3 separate regions of the Homo sapiens genome follow, and all the other regions are linked to region 1. The links are contacts of gene promoters, found by promoter capture Hi-C in blood cells and fetal thymus (Javierre and others, 2016). All regions are on one chromosome and are shown on one strand. Each heading gives the region's core, a stretch centred on a gene start or on the middle of the fragment in contact. The rest is flanking DNA. Distances are from core to core; before and after follow the strand shown. Region 1 holds the start of PAX6-AS1 (PAX6 antisense RNA 1). Region 2 overlaps WT1-AS (WT1 antisense RNA). Region 3 overlaps DCDC1 (doublecortin domain containing 1).

Region 1 (3,104 bases), core at 86-2,585:
GTCAGATCTGCCACTTCCCCTGCCGAGCGGCGGTGAGAAGTGTGGGAACCGGCGCTGCCAGGCTCACCTGCCTCCCCGCCCTCCGCTCCCAGGTAACCGCCCGGGCTCCGGCCCCGGCCCGGCTCGGGGCCCGCGGGGCCTCTCCGCTGCCAGCGACTGCTGTCCCCAAATCAAAGCCCGCCCCAAGTGGCCCCGGGGCTTGATTTTTGCTTTTAAAAGGAGGCATACAAAGATGGAAGCGAGTTACTGAGGGAGGGATAGGAAGGGGGGTGGAGGAGGGACTTGTCTTTGCCGAGTGTGCTCTTCTGCAAAAGTAGCAAAATGTTCCACTCCTAAGAGTGGACTTCCAGTCCGGCCCTGAGCTGGGAGTAGGGGGCGGGAGTCTGCTGCTGCTGTCTGCTAAAGCCACTCGCGACCGCGAAAAATGCAGGAGGTGGGGACGCACTTTGCATCCAGACCTCCTCTGCATCGCAGTTCACGACATCCACGCTTGGGAAAGTCCGTACCCGCGCCTGGAGCGCTTAAAGACACCCTGCCGCGGGTCGGGCGAGGTGCAGCAGAAGTTTCCCGCGGTTGCAAAGTGCAGATGGCTGGACCGCAACAAAGTCTAGAGATGGGGTTCGTTTCTCAGAAAGACGCGGAGTACGAAAGAATGCGGCCGACAGAGCTGGGCAGCGCGTAAAGCTCCCAGCGTGTGATTTGAGCTTCACTTCGGAAGACCTAATAATTAGCGATTCTCACTGAGCTAGAACGCGGGCTCCGGTTACTGCGGGCGCTGCGCTGGCTGCCTCGGCGGGAAGCGCGCGGGCGCCATGGGAGCCGGGCCGCCAAGCCCGGGAAAGAGAAGCGCCCACCACCCTGCGGCCCTTGGAGGGCCAGAGCCGGGGCCCGGAAGTGTCCCCTTAGTGAGTCAGGGAAGGGACGACCCAAACTTAGACTAACTTGTGGTTCAGCCGGGCGAAAGTCCTGGGAGCCCGGCCCTAAAAGCAGCTGGAGACGCCCAGGCCGGCTTAGGCGGGGCACCCAAGAACCCCGCCCGGGAGTTTGGGGCGGCCTCTGGGCCAGGCCCCGGCTAGCCCCCAACCCCCACTCCCACTCGCGCTCCTGCGCCCCCTTTCTAGGTCTTCTGGGAGCACCTTCGGAGCTCAGTCACCTGTGACAGGTGTTGGGACCTCCGCCCGACTCCGAGCGGTGGCGCCCCCTGCTCACCTCACCTGGAAACGGGGGACGAGCGCAGTGGCAGTCCGGCCGCACGCCTTACCTGGGCCGGGATCCTCTCCTCCGCGGGTTCCTCTCCCTGGAGCTGGGCGGCGAGCAGGTCGCCTGCTTCGCAGTGGGAAGTGGACCTTCTCCTCCAGTCATAAATCAAACCCAGCCATCCTCGGGCCTCCTCCCTCATTAGAGATGTTTATTGGAGATCGTGTTTATTCGGCTGTCACGGCGAGAAAACGCGGTGACATAATTACCTCTGACCAGAGTCCTCGCTCCGCGCCCAGGGCGAGCCGAGGACCTCCTCTGTCGCCTTCTCATGCCCGTGCCCTTCGTGATCGGAGGGCGCCCGTGATAGGCTTGTCTTTTTTTCCTCAGACCCTCTCATAGAATTTGGATGACTGGAATTACTATTCAGATTTCCCCAGGGCCCGGAGTTTATTTATTTATTTTAGAATTGGAAAGGAAAACCGAAGGGAACCCAACGCCCCTCCGGGGCAGAAGGGGGCAGCGCGCGCGAGGCGGAAGGACAGTCACTCTCGCTGCACAAACTTTCCCGCGGGCCGCGCCGCGCGTGCAGGGGCTGGACGCCACCCGGCGCCAGAGCCGGGCCTGAGGAGCGGGGTCTGGCCGGGAACGAGGGCTGCCAGCCTGGGTGGTGTCATTTGTTGCTTCATTTTTCATTCCCTTTCCTCTCGTGAGGAATCAGAGGCATCGGGCCGCGCGGGCTGAGAATTCTTAAATTCTCCCCGGCCGCATTCGGCTGAGCCAACCCGCAGTTCCTGTCAGCCCCTCTGTCCCCCGGGCAGCGGTTTTCCCCGCTAGCCAGGTTTGGAAGTCACCCTCTGTGAGACTGGGTTAGGAAGTGACGAAAAGCGCCGAATTGTTTTCAAATTGAAAATACTTTTTTTTTTTTTTTTGGAGATAGCGCTGACAAATATATGGGATCCCGGCTTTTGATCCCTGGCTGCCGCCTCTGTTCTCCTGTCGCTAATAAAACTCGCATTGAGCCCCTTAGTGCCTTGATTAACAGGCAGATTAACTCTTACTGGGGTTGGGAACAGCTTGTCCTAATCAATGTCATTTTAAAAGCCCGTCAGGATGCGCTTAGCTTCGGTTCCCTGGATGCTTGAGCGAGCCAGCCATGACATTTGCTCCCTCCCCCTCCCCAGCCTCAAATCCCCCAGTAAAGCCCCCAGTTCCCGCCTGCCTGTTCCCAGGTCTACAACGGGACAAATCGCAGGACCGGGTCGTTGGCCTTTAGAATAGGCAGCGGTTTAGAGAGGGGATATCCAGGGAGAAGGGACTGAGGTGGCCTTGACTTGCTTGCTTTTCCTTTGAAGCTGAACTCTTGCCTCTTGGGGGCAGAGGTTACAGGGAAAAGAGAGATGGGGGGATCGTCACAGGGTGATGAAATGGAAAGCAAACTTTTCTAGGAACCCTATTTGCAAAAATCGGAGAGTGCCGCTGATTTCAGTTGTCCTACATGTCAGGAGTTTTAAACCTAACTCCTATCTGGACAACAGCATGGAGGGACTGGGAGGCAAAGCCTTGGGAGTCTGACCCGCTGGGCTGCTAGGAATCCCTTTGCTGGGAGACTCCACTGGACAATGTTATTTTAAAGGTATTTTGGGGGTGGGCAGGGAGAAGACAGAGAGAGAAAGAGAGAGAGAGAGAGAGAGAGAGAGAGAGAGAGAGAGACAGGCTGGCCTCCCAGAGCGAACGGAAGAGGACTGAGGACTGAACCCAGGGAGCCCCTAGCACTGGCCATTTGGCAGGAGGCGAGGAAGGGCGAGGGCACCGCGGCTTCCCCCCAAGCCGAGCAGTGGCCACAGCCTGAAGGTGCCACGGGGCGGCTCTGGGATCTTCTTGGCTTTTCTAGGCTCTGGGCTCGG
Region 2 (3,104 bases), core at 352-2,851, 620 kb before region 1:
TGCTCTCCTATCTAATCCTCAGAACAACTCTATGAGGTGGGCGCTAGTATCCCATTATCCCGTTTGACCAGTAAGGAAACTGAGGCTCAGAGAGACTGCGGAACTCGTCTAGGGTCACACAGCTGTTGGTTACCTGGCAGAGCTGAGGTTCCATTCTGGGGCCACCAACCCCTTGCTCTTTACCGCTGCGCTCCATAGACTGCCTCTCCTTCGGCTGTCTGGGCCTCAGTTTCCTTCTCTGTAAAACGAGAAGTTTAATCTGCAGCTTTCTTTGCCAATCGGTGGTTCAGACCAGGAACCTCTGCTACAGATCTCGGCGCTGACAGGGGTAAGAAGGTGGGTGAAAGAAGGGGGCGCCCAGTTTTCCACAGCCTGCTTTTCTCTGGGACCTCGCGAAGGGCGGGCCTCGCGAGCTAAAGGAGGTACAGGAGAGCGCCTATCGTCCGCGGCGGGTGAAGGTGCTACCTGCCTTCGTGCTAGGCTGTGAGTCCTGGTGCTTAGCTCAGGGCGCCAAGGCCAGTGTAGCTGGCATGTCCCCCTTGGAAAACCTCAGGTCTCCCGCAGAGAACGTTACCCACAACAAAGAAGAGGACAGAGAGGCATGGAGCGCCCTGCGACTGCAGGAGTACGTCAGTTCCCCAGCGCTGGCTTAGTGTCGCCTGGGCTTCCGGGCATGTGGATCCGTTGGGGTCGTACGGAGACTTCCTGTCGGGTCCCTGGGGTCCTCCGACTGCGGCTCCTCAGCTTAGCACTTTCTTCTTGGCCCCGCAGGCTGCAGGGAACTCCTCCCACCTCTTTAGTCGGAGAAGTCCAAGTCGGGCGAGGGGGCACCCCGGGGTTCGCACCGGTGCTCTTCCCCTCCCCGCCCCCACAAGGATTCTGAGAAAATAAATGGCAGAGGAGAGAGGAGTTCTACATTTGCTTGGCTCTCCTTTCCTCCTATCCACCCCTACATCCCTCACCCCGGGGCAAAAACTTATTTTTGAAAAATGTTGGCAGAGATTTACGTGTCTTTGCCTTACCTGGGTTTCACAAACACAACGACTCACATTCAAGCCAGCCTCCCTTCAGATAACCTCCTCTCCCCCCGCTAAAAGTGCCAAGGATGGTAAAAGAAGAAACAATCTCAATCTTTTCGTTTGGAAATGAAAGTCCCCGGCTTTTCATAAAGGGCTCCTCGCCCCTCACAGTTGAGTCCTAGTTAAGAAAAACGACTTCCAAGTAGAAATAATAGGCGGGGAGAAGGAAGGGAGATACAGGGATCTGGGGGGTTCTTAGGGCAACTGGCAGTGAATTTTGTCTCGAGAGTCCTTTCTCCACTCAAAAAACCAAACGCGCGAGCCCCGCGAAAGGTTTAGGGATAGATCGTGTGGGAGAGGACTGAGCAGAGAGCGTGGGGGCAGTGTCTTGTAGAATCTTTCTTTTCTTAATAATAATTTTAAAAGCTTCTGAGTGGAGACGACGCAAAGTCAAGCAGCAAAGGTGGCCTGGGAGGCAAGCGGAGGGCTCAAGTGCCGCATCTTTACCCTCAGGGTCTCCTGCGCCTACGGGATGCGCATTCCCAAGAAGTGCGCCCTTCGAGTAAGTCCTGGGCCCGCACACACTTCGGGTCCGCAGCCAGAATTTAATGGCGACAACGTTTATGCAATGCAAGCTAAAAACCAAAGCGTAAAAAATTACTATGTCATTTATTGAAACGCCATTCTTTGTCAAACTGCAACTACTTTGCTTCACATAAGTTTGGCTGGAAAGCTTGCAGCCCCAGCCCGGGCCAGCCAGGTACAGGAGGCCGGACTGCAACCGGTTGCTTCCCTCCCGTCGCGCCTGGCCGTCCCACGCTGCGCCGTCGCTGCTGCCTCCTGGCGCCCCTGGGATTTTATACGCACCTCTGAAACACGCTCCGCTCCGGCCCCCGGTTCTTCTCCTTGCCTAGGGGTTGTTTCCCAATAGATACTGACTCCTTTAGAAGATCCAAAAACCAAACCAAAACACCCCCTACCCGCCCCAAACACCTGCTCTGGGGCGCGGGGGCTGCCAAACAGAGACTAGACGAAGGGAGTCAGATTTAGCGAAGCTCTTCGAGCTCCCAAAGATTCGAACACTAACTCGCGCCCGTGGGCCGATGGAGGTTCTCCCTACTCCACTCCTTGGTCCCCTTAACTGGCTTCCGCCTCCTGGTCAATCACTGAGCAACCAGAATGGTATCCTCGACCAGGGCCACAGGCAGTGCTCGGCGGAGTGGCTCCAGGAGTTACCCGCTCCCTGCCGGGCTTCGTATCCAAACCCTCCCCTTCACCCCTCCTCCCCAAACTGGGCGCCAGGATGCTCCGGCCGGAATATACGCAGGCTTTGGGCGTTTGCCCAAGGGTTTTCTTCCCTCCTAAACTAGCCGCTGTTTTCCCGGCTTAACCGTAGAAGAATTAGATATTCCTCACTGGAAAGGGAAACTAAGTGCTGCTGACTCCAATTTTAGGTAGGCGGCAACCGCCTTCCGCCTGGCGCAAACCTCACCAAGTAAACAACTACTAGCCGATCGAAATACGCCCGGCTTATAACTGGTGCAACTCCCGGCCACCCAACTGAGGGACGTTCGCTTTCAGTCCCGACCTCTGGAACCCACAAAGGGCCACCTCTTTCCCCAGTGACCCCAAGATCATGGCCACTCCCCTACCCGACAGTTCTAGAAGCAAGAGCCAGACTCAAGGGTGCAAAGCAAGGGTATACGCTTCTTTGAAGCTTGACTGAGTTCTTTCTGCGCTTTCCTGAAGTTCCCGCCCTCTTGGAGCCTACCTGCCCCTCCCTCCAAACCACTCTTTTAGATTAACAACCCCATCTCTACTCCCACCGCATTCGACCCTGCCCGGACTCACTGCTTACCTGAACGGACTCTCCAGTGAGACGAGGCTCCCACACTGGCGAAGGCCAAGAAGGGGAGGTGGGGGGAGGGTTGTGCCACACCGGCCAGCTGAGAGCGCGTGTTGGGTTGAAGAGGAGGGTGTCTCCGAGAGGGACGCTCCCTCGGACCCGCCCTCACCCCAGCTGCGAGGGCGCCCCCAAGGAGCAGCGCGCGCTGCCTGGCCGGGCTTGGGCTGCTGAGTGAATGG
Region 3 (3,104 bases), core at 382-2,881, 510 kb after region 1:
ATTCAGTGTGTCTAACTGCTGTACTTTCCTATGCTTTTTATACTTTATTAGAAGTAATTTTTTTCTGCAACTTCTATAAAGCTAGTGAATCAAAGGCAAGTCTAGGCAGTAATTGCATAAGTAGAAGAAAAGTAATTCTGGAGTTCATTACAGATGAGGTGATAAAAATCTCCCTTCTGTTAATGTTATTGTATAAAGTTGTGCTAGGATTTCTCTTTTATATAATACTTGATCTTCAGGAAATAAGCAATTTCTTGAATTCAATAGAAAATTTAAGAAAATTTCATTCTTGTAAAGAAACTTGTTGCTATAATGGTCATTGAAAATTACCTATGTGATAGTGTAGACTCATATATTTTTCACATTTTGCTTTAAGTTTAAAATATGGCTGGCTGCCTTAATTTTATATTCATTGAATCATTTGCTTATATAAAAACATGGGTCGTAGTGGGCAAATACTTTTCTGTGACTTTAAAAAATTCAGATATATTTGTAATGATTGCTTCATTAAGATCCTTGATTATTGTTATTAATAAGAAATGCTTGCCTTTCATATGAATAATGGTATTGTAGAAGAGACATATAAAAATTATTTATAGCTAAGCTAAGAAGAAAATCTCCTGGACATGTATGCCTGAAATAATAATGTCACACACATGACTGAGCTTGGTGGATGATTTTTAAATGTACTAACTAATTTCCTCCTACTTTTTGTTTTCTCTTTTATCCTTTTCAAAAGCCAAGTCCAGAACAAAAAACTTCTCTGCTTTGTCTGCGTATCTTTGGCTGTGTTTCACTGTGACATGCACTGCTGTTCTTTTAGCACCAAAATGTTGGCACACATTCCTGAAAATTTCACACCATCTCTTGCTGGATCAGCAAGCTTAACCCACCAAAATCTGGTGTTGTGCAATGGTTTTTGACTGATAATCAATCTTTATGCTGCTCGACAGTTGTTGCTGGGACACGGAGTAGAGCAGGTGGCAGATGTGCCTTGTCTTTTGAGAAAAGAAATTGTAGGTGAGCTTGGACACAGACTAGCATATCACATGTCCATTAAAAAGAGTTAGGATAAGTATAATGGGGAAAAGCCATTCATCTAAGTTGAGCTTATAGATAAGCTTAAACAATGATATTTGGTTTCTTTCAGAATGTTAAGAATATAAATGTAAACATATATACATTTATATATGAAAGATAATATTTAACTTGATGTGAGTGATATATTACATATCACTCACATATTCACATACACTTTTTCAAACCACCAAAATCAGCTTGAAGATTACCTTTCTGTCATCTGTTTTACAGATAAATCGATAATTTTCCAACTAGCCACAAGTGTACCATTAAAATAAAAACGTGTGAATAACTTTGAAAGTGGTAGATAAACTTAAAGAGACATGATCAGAAGTTGGATAATTGAACATGCTAAAGGTAAATAGGGGAAATCAATTGGCAGAATTAAGTGTTAATGATGTATCTTTCTAAATGAGCATAAGTATTTTATATACAATTGATAACTGGTCATTGTTTTAATTTACAGACTTTTATTCATTCAACAAACATTTATTGAGAGTCTATATATGCTAGATACTAGGCCAGGTCAGAGAAAGATAAAAGCTGTGGTTCATAGTCTGATTTCTTTTTTATCATTATTCTTTCATCTCTAATTTAAATTCAATTTAATGCAATTAAATCAAAATTTAAATCAACACATTTTTATTGAGTACCTACTATGTGTGCCCCAGCATAGGGATAGAAGTCCTGGCCTTTAAGGAACTTAAACTGAGTAGATAAGTTATGAATCCTTCAAACTGAGAATACTATTTTACAACATAAATCAAATGGATCTTATTTTATTTCTGGCATTGGAAGGCCAAACAAGCCAGTATATATTTTGGCAATTATATATCTATACTTCAGTGGTTTTCCTTATTCATTGGAAAAGCAGTGTAGATGGAGAAAATTGCCTAAGAACGATTTCCAGATTTACTAAGACAGAAAAAATCCTATAGAACATCTCTGATATTTTAACTATTTTACTACGCCTTTTGAGCATAACTGTTGACAACCAGTGGCATTGGATCTAATAGAAAGCCGGAGAGCTATTCATCACATACCTTGAAACACAAAGCTTTCATACGGAGGTCAGGCCAAGGTCAAGACTGACATGAAGCATTCCTTGTTGAAATGCAGTATTAGAATAATTCTTACATTTTAAAGTTGAATATTTAATCATAAATATTAATTGTGTATGGAAAAGATCAGGAAAATAGAAATATTTTATATAAATACTGTTGATAATGTTGCCTTATTAGGTATTATACTTCTGGCATTTAAAGTTTCTGACATTTATTAATAATTCATTGAAATTATGAATAGGTAGTTAATGAATTGTTTGAAAAGGCATATTAAGTTTTCTGATTCATGGCCATGTGGTTTAGGTTTTATTCACAGTTTCCTAAATCTTCTGCTTAATTGTGACACAGTGAAAATTCTTGGATCAGATCCATGGGGTTTATAAGAGTTCAGTTCCTTTATAACTGCTAGGAGCTGTATGTAAGTAATGCAAACATAGCATAATAAATGGTTCGTGCCCTGTGATTGCCTGAATATCTTAAATAAGATGAGGAGAAAACACTATTTAGACCTAATTCGTTAGGTCCAAGTTCTGTTGTATGGAGTTCTGATTGTCTTTAAAACTTTTTGGTTGAATATTTCTACTCTCTCCTGTATATCCTATTCTATTACTGGGCTTTCAGAATTATCATTTACAGTGATTCATTTCAGTCCTGAGTTTTGTTAACCAGAAGTGAAACTTGGTATTATGAATAAGATTTTAAATCTTTTAGATCCAATATTGTGAAGACGTAGTCACAGAAAAAAATGCATGAAAGGAGTTCTTGATACTACACCTAAGATCTAAATTTAAGCCTAGAGATTTTCTAGTAACTGCCATGTGATCTACAAAATGAAATAATTTGCTATGACAGCTTGTGATTGACAAGAATATGTGTGAGCACATTTAAAATAGGCCATCTTTTCATGTAGAAGTGTCAGTGAAATGATGGATTCTCATCATTTTAATTATTGATGATTTG

Evidence for each region. The method cuts DNA at HindIII sites, captures the fragments that hold promoters and counts their contacts. A CHiCAGO score of 5 or more calls a contact.
Region 2: a contact is called between a fragment that was not itself captured here and the fragment with the promoter of PAX6-AS1 in region 1, in 1 of 17 cell types (fetal thymus). The highest score is 5.5, in fetal thymus.
Region 3: a fragment that was not itself captured here is called in contact with the fragment with the promoter of PAX6-AS1 in region 1 in 1 of 17 cell types (total CD8 T cells); the score reaches 5.2 in total CD8 T cells.

What each region holds. Positions count from the first base shown.
Region 1 is chr11:31,814,797-31,817,900 of GRCh38, reverse strand. It overlaps PAX6-AS1 (PAX6 antisense RNA 1), which reads right to left and starts at 1,335. Exons shown (of 3, transcript NR_033971.1): 1 at 1,262-1,335. It also overlaps a transcript of PAX6 not described here. RefSeq lists enhancers at 1-23, 1,545-2,306 and a promoter at 1-98. The HindIII fragment of the contact is 5,434 bases long and covers 1-3,104 here.
Region 2 is chr11:32,435,620-32,438,723 of GRCh38, reverse strand. It overlaps WT1-AS (WT1 antisense RNA), which reads right to left. Exons shown (of 5, transcript NR_120548.1): 1 at 2,878-3,104. Among named protein-coding and RNA genes, the nearest start is that of WT1, 1.6 kb to the right of the region's middle. RefSeq lists enhancers at 1-711, 1,301-1,448, promoters at 1,750-2,086, 2,990-3,092, 2,734-3,104, 2,186-3,104 and cis regulatory regions at 2,545-2,564, 2,657-2,783, 2,768-2,805. The HindIII fragment of the contact is 307 bases long and covers 1,448-1,754 here.
Region 3 is chr11:31,301,710-31,304,813 of GRCh38, reverse strand. All of the region lies in intron 6 of DCDC1 (doublecortin domain containing 1), which reads left to right. Among named protein-coding and RNA genes, the nearest start is that of DCDC1, 66 kb to the left of the region's middle. The HindIII fragment of the contact is 1,016 bases long and covers 1,124-2,139 here.